Linked DNA regions of Homo sapiens: region 2 is linked to region 1. Evidence: promoter capture Hi-C in 16 types of primary human blood cells and fetal thymus (Javierre and others, 2016). All regions are on one chromosome and are shown on one strand. Each heading gives the region's core, a stretch centred on a gene start or on the middle of the fragment in contact. The rest is flanking DNA. Distances are from core to core; before and after follow the strand shown.

Evidence for each region. The method cuts DNA at HindIII sites, captures the fragments that hold promoters and counts their contacts. A CHiCAGO score of 5 or more calls a contact.
Region 2: a fragment that was not itself captured here is called in contact with the fragment with the promoter of SCN3A in region 1 in 2 of 17 cell types (total B cells and erythroblasts); the score reaches 6.9 in total B cells.

Annotation. Positions count from the first base shown.
Region 1 is chr2:165,202,627-165,205,673 of GRCh38, reverse strand. It overlaps SCN3A (sodium voltage-gated channel alpha subunit 3), which reads left to right and starts at 1,624. Exons shown (of 28, transcript NM_006922.4): 1 at 1,624-1,851. The HindIII fragment of the contact is 4,908 bases long and covers 1-2,556 here.
Region 2 is chr2:165,034,590-165,038,067 of GRCh38, reverse strand. No RefSeq gene overlaps it. Among named protein-coding and RNA genes, the nearest start is that of SLC38A11, 81 kb to the right of the region's middle. The HindIII fragment of the contact is 162 bases long and covers 1,558-1,719 here.

The sequences.
Region 1 (3,047 bases), core at 375-2,874:
TCTAGTGTGGCAGAGATTGTGCCTCGCTTGCCTGAAGCCTGCAGAGTGCATTACATCCCATGGTTTACAAACAGCAGAACAGAGATGGCTGTGTGAGGCGCCTGGGGCAGGGAGGAAGGCTTAAGTCAGCCAATTACAGCCAAGAGTGACCCTGGGAACATGCTGCTTTTTCTTCTCTCCTCCTAAAGGACAGGAACAAAAGTTTCCTTAGAGGAAGAAGTGACAAAGAGGGGATGCTGCCATGCAAAGCTGGAGGGATGCTATTCCCGGGGCCCAGTGGGCCTGTGGGTACGTTAGTAGATATGAGGGATAATGATGGTCATGGATCATGCAGGACTCCTGGCCTCAGTGGATGCCCATGTGGAGAAAGGGGGAACGGGATCATACTCTGCTTTCTCTATATATGTACACAATCCTGAACTTAGATCAGTCTCCATGAGAAGGAGAGATAGAAGAGGAAAATCATGTATTGGTTGAATGCAAACCCAAAATCATTGGGAAAAGCCTCAAGTAATTTAGTTTACCTGGAACTGACTAGATTTATTTTTCTGCCATTAGACAAAATGGGGGCCACAATTGAAAACGAAGTATGTAATTAACAGTTCTTGAACACATGGCTGGGAAATATGGTATCAGCTATATTTGTTTTTCTTCTTTGTATGAGCTCCTTTATGGCAGGCACTGTGTGTTTCTCTCTGTGTCTTTTCAAGTCTAATATAATACTTGACATCATTTTTGTCCATCCATACAGTTGGTTTGTCAATATGAATGTATTTATTTAATTGATGATAAACTGTAATAAAATCATAGTTGTTTGCTCTAAAGTAGATATGAAAGGTCAGATGAAACAATAACATACATCTGGATTGAGAAATATCTTAATAACTGATGGATTATTTTTATTTTCTTTATGTATTGTGTGCTTCAATATCCTAATAAATAATATTAGCTAGGTTCACTGATGTATAGAATCTTTTTCTACATTTAGATATTTCTTGCAAATGTTTTACCAGAAAGCAACACAAAAATACTATCAGTGAGTATGTGTTTACACTGTTCTCTAAGGAGTCAAATTCCTCACCTTGAAAATAATTCATCCCAGGAAGAGAAAAGGTTTTCAAAAGACTAGAGCAGGCCACAAGGGAGCTTTCGCAAAACTCTACACGTAAAGGGTAATGTAAACTTAAAACCTATTTTTCAAACAGTAATTTATATATCTTTTAATTTTAGTAGTTTATGTGTGAAACAATCATGCAAAACAACAAAGTGATAAAATTTTTTAAAAAAATTAGTGAGATGCAAATAACTGAATATGTAAAAGGTCTCATACATATTTATATGTAGTAGATAAGTTACATTTTTTTAGTGTGTTGGGAAATTTTAGCTCACATCACCTCTCTACTGTCATCTTGGGGCACTTTCATGACTACCCATGCTTCATGCAGGTTTACTTTCCTCCCTGTGACAGAGGATAATGGGAATGTTTTTTCTTTGGCTCAATTTTGTGTGTGTCCGCCAGTAGATGGCGGTACCACTTTGAGTGCGATCGGCCTTTTTTTCTTTCTTTTTTTTTTTCCTCAAAGCTGTTTTCTGATATATGTTGGGTACCATAGAGTGAATCTCAGAACAGGAAGCGGAGGCATAAGCAGAGAGGATTCTGGAAAGGTCTCTTTGTTTTCTTATCCACAGAGAAAGAAAGAAAAAAAATTGTAACTAATTTGTAAACCTCTGTGGTCAAAAAAAAAAAAAAAAAAAAAAGCTGAACAGCTGCAGAGGAAGACACGTTATACCCTAACCATCTTGGATGCTGGGCTTTGTTATGCTGTAATTCATAAGGCTCTGTTTTATCAGGTAAGCTGACAAAACATTTCATTATCTGCACCATAGAACCTAGCTACCAGGTCATTTTCCTTACTTTAAAATCATCTTCATGCTGCTATTTTTAACCCAGTGTTGTTTAAATGTAAATTACAGGAACCAAAGGCATCGTTTGATGTGTAAACTGCTTACTATTTCTTTATCTTTCAAAGAAAATAGAGCCTGTCTGGAAATGGTGATTTATGGTACATACTAGGCATCAATGGTCTTGTGTTTTTGTAGATGCTTATGATTAATTGTATTCAGAAAAAATATTTTTTATTATACTTAAAGCTAGTCTAATGAGTTTCCTGGCTGTATGTCATCTATTTAAATGCCCAGTGTGTCCAGTATTTTTTAAACATAAATGTATAGTGAAATTGGAACTATCATTCTTGTGCTTTAGTTTTTTATTTAACAGCTTTAGAGAGGCCATGCATATAGGGAGTGATAACAATATAGAGGTGTTTGGCTTTGTGAAATACACTATCATTTTTCTCTAAAATCTGTTTTCATAGAGAAAAGAACACCAATACTAACCATTTAAAAGAGGTTGAACCTTCAAAAAATAAAATAATCTCTATATGTTCCATAATATGCTACTTCTTTATCCTTTAATATATTCATTTTATATTAAATGTTTACCTTTTAATTTATTGATTTAAAGATTATTATATATTCTTAATTGTTCTATAAGCTTGATAGATTGCTGTTTTTCTGTATATATTTAATAACTGTTTATTTTTATTAATTACCAGGAAGAACCACTGGAGCCATAAAACAATAATTTACTTTATCTATGATCCATATTGTCTGTAGTTGTATTTAGAATATTCTATATCATAACCATAAATGTTTCATTCAGTTAGCCACCACATAATTAGAATAAGAAATTATTGACAGAAAATCTATACATATTAATTGAAAGATAAGTTTTAAAAATCATACAGGGTTTTAAAATACACAACAGGTAGTATAATGTGGCTTATGAGGACAAAGATAAAGGCATAAGTGCTTGTAGGAATTTGCATGGAAACATTTCATCACATTCACTCCAAATAGAGTGTGCCCTATATGAAATGAAGACTTCTGATTTCAACAGGGCTTCCAGTCAGTACTGGCTAAAAGGGCTTCAAAAATAGAACTTAAGGCCTCCAAACTGTAATTCCTAATGATATGTTGAAAAATAT
Region 2 (3,478 bases), core at 389-2,888, 170 kb after region 1:
CAAATAATCCCATCAAAAACTGAGCTAAGAACATGAATGGACAGTTCTCAAAAGAAGATATATAAATGGCCAACAAACATATAAAAATGCTCAATATCACTAATTATCAGGAAAATGCAAATCAAAACCACAATGAGATACCACGTTACTCCTAAAAGAATGACCATGATAAAAAAAAAAAATAGATGTTGGCATAGATCTGGTGAAAAACGTACATTTTTACAATGTTGGTGGGAATGTAAACTAGTACAACCACTATGGTAAACTGTCTGAAGATTCCTTAAAAAATTAAAAGTAGAACTACCTTTTGATCCAGTGATCCCACTACTAGGTATCTACCCAGAGGAAAAGACGTCATTATATGAAAAAGACACTTGCACATGTATGTTTATAGCAGCACAATTCACAATTGCAAAAATATGGAACCAGACCAAATTCCCATCAATCAATGAGTGGATAAAGGAAATGTGATTTATATACCCATGGAATACTACTCAGCCATTAAAAGGAAGGAAACAATGGCATTTGCAGCAACCTGGATGCTATGAGGAGGTAAAGTCATAAGAATTATACAATGGACTCTGGGAACTTGGCGGGGAAGGGTGGGGTAAAGTATAAAAGACTACATACTGGGTATAGGGTACACTGCTCGAGTGATGGGTGCGTCAAAATCTCGGAAATCACTGTTAAAGAACTTATGCATGTAACCAAACACCACCTGTTCCCCTAAAACCTACTGAAATAAAAAAGAAGAAATCTATAATGAAAAAATTATTTTTATATTAAATTACTCTTATACAATAGAAAGGTTTTTGAAAATCCTTTAAAAAATGTATTTAGCAATATATTGTGCCCTGCTTACTGAAGTTCTCTCAAAAAAGAAATATAAAAGTTCAAATAATGTAAACAAGTAATAAATAACCTTGCAAAATTATTATTTTTAGCTACATGCTAAAAATGTTGACCAGTAAACAGGGAACTCTGCAAAATTCACACCCTCTGTCTTTGCTGTGACACTCACATGAGACTACATAAGAAAAAGAAAAAAAATATTAAAAACAAATAAGTAATTAAAAATAGGCCATGTTCAGTTTGATTTAATATAGATCAGAGAAAAAGAAACTTTGATTTTTTTCCCTTTTTACTCCATAGATATTTATATTTTTAAAAAATGGTAGTCAGTCAAATTGGGTTGACTTGATATAAAGCCAGAAACTGGAAATGTTAGCCTTCCACAGGGTAATAGGAAGGAAATGAGTTCAAAATCTACATTTTCAATTAATAGCTCTAGCAATTATTAATGAATCATGCTTTTTAAACCATCTGCACACAAGTAGGCACCAAAAAGAAATAATCCACAGAATGTGATGAATAAGACTAATCCATCTTCTTACCTAGCATAGTAATTCTCTGAAATATTTTTGCTGACATGCCAAACAATAAAAATTCATTTAAATCATTTTTTTTGTAAGTCACTGTTGTATAGTCCTAGAGATAAAATTTGTGCACTAGTATAATGACCTACATTCTAATATCTTCAAATCTTGGCTCCAAGCTTCTGGGTTTCTTCAAAATGCAATTAAAATTGAAACAAACTTGTGGGAATAAGCCCTTTTGCTTTTCAGTTTCTGCAAAAGACTGTGGTATGAACAGTCTAATATTCAAGGTGCATTCATTTTACAACTTACAATAGCTAAATGCAATTAACTCTAGTAAGCTTGGTGAAGTGTTCTCCCACGAGAAACAAATCTCATCCTACAGATCAAGGGATGTAAAATGAACACCAACACTACACAGAAATGTGCTGATTCGATTTTTAAAAAGTTTAATGGCATTTTATTACAATACTAATGCTTACTTCTTTTATTGCCTTTAAATATTTAACTGTCTCCCATCATCATCTTTCCAAGTTCATTGAGCTTGGCCTCAGCACAGGTGGCCCACTCTGTTAGCTCCCAGTTGAATAACTAATGAATAAAGACCATAGGAACAATGATCTGATGAGTATGTTGAGTTGCTGAATAACCAAAGTGCAATCAGGAGCCAGTCTCAGCCTCTCTAAGTGCCTATTTCACTCCTGATTCTTTCTGAGCTATTACATAAGGAAGAAATGTGCATTTAGAACACAGTGTTCAGAGCAATCCAGGCCAGGCCACTGTCTTCAAAAACTGCACATCATATCTCTCTGTCTGCTGGCCTATCAATCATTATGTTATCTATCTATCCATCTAACATAGCTACCATCAGGGTTTCAATATTTCACACAATTTCCTAGAATGCCTATTATATGTCAGGCATTAGAGATACTGAGGTAAATAAAATAGTCTCTGCCATACATGACCACTGTGTAATGTGGAAAATCCATGTTAAAAAAAAGCTATGATACAATACGATGTAGTATGTATTCAGAAGGTGTAAATATAAATAGTCTTTATTGTCTAGAAAGTATCTTTCTTCTCATCCTAAAAAAAAAAAATCATCTATGAAGTCATCTTTATAAAATAAAAAAGAAAAGTTCTCTCATCTAATGACCCATTCGCCTCTCAGCAAGATTTTAATCACTAAACTAAATACATTTATATTCATGGCTTTATTAATTCTGCTCTTGGTTGTTTCATTCTATGTGTATTTGAATTATCTAGGTTTTTTAAAAATTATCTAGGTTTTTTGTTTTATTTGGTAGTCTCTTACTACGTATATGTAAAGTATAATATGACAGTTAAGAACTGAGTCTTGAAGCCATATTATCTGGTTTGAATACCAGCTTGACCACTTACTACTTCTGTTATTTTGGGAAAGTTATGGAGCCTTTCTCTGACTCCATGCTCATCTGAAAGTTTGAATAATAATAATTCCTAGCTCATGAGGGTGGGTATTAATCATGTTTTTAAATAGGGTGGGTATTAATCATGTTTTTAAATTTTTCTGTACTTGATGATGCTTTGATATCCTCAGCCTTGTATACCTGAGAAGGGACTGCCTCTCCCAGACTTGGCTAATTCTTAGGGATGGCAAACAACCTGCCTGTGAGTACATCCTTGATGTGCAAACCAACTAATCTGAGTCCATACCCCCACCCACTTCCTTTTATCAGGCTCCTGCAGTCCTGGACACTCTTCCCTTGCCCTAAGTCACCTAGGGCCAGGTACCAAACAACTAGGGACTACCACTATAGGCCAGAGCCCAAGGAAATTATTCAAACTATCTAATCCTAAACATGCTCAGCTGGCTTACCCCACCTTGCCCATTTCTTCCCATGAAGACCATAATAAAAGCTGTTCCTTTTGTCTCTTCTTCCTCCTGACTGACCTTGGTGCTTTCCCCTGCATCCTTGAATAGTGTACCTAGCATATTCGCCCTCCTCTTGGAACTGGGAGTAAAACACTAACTTGTTAGTGGCAGTCATTTCCTGGTCTATTGGCCTCACTATACTTGGATAGTAATAGAATCGACATTTTCAAATGTGTTGTAAATATTC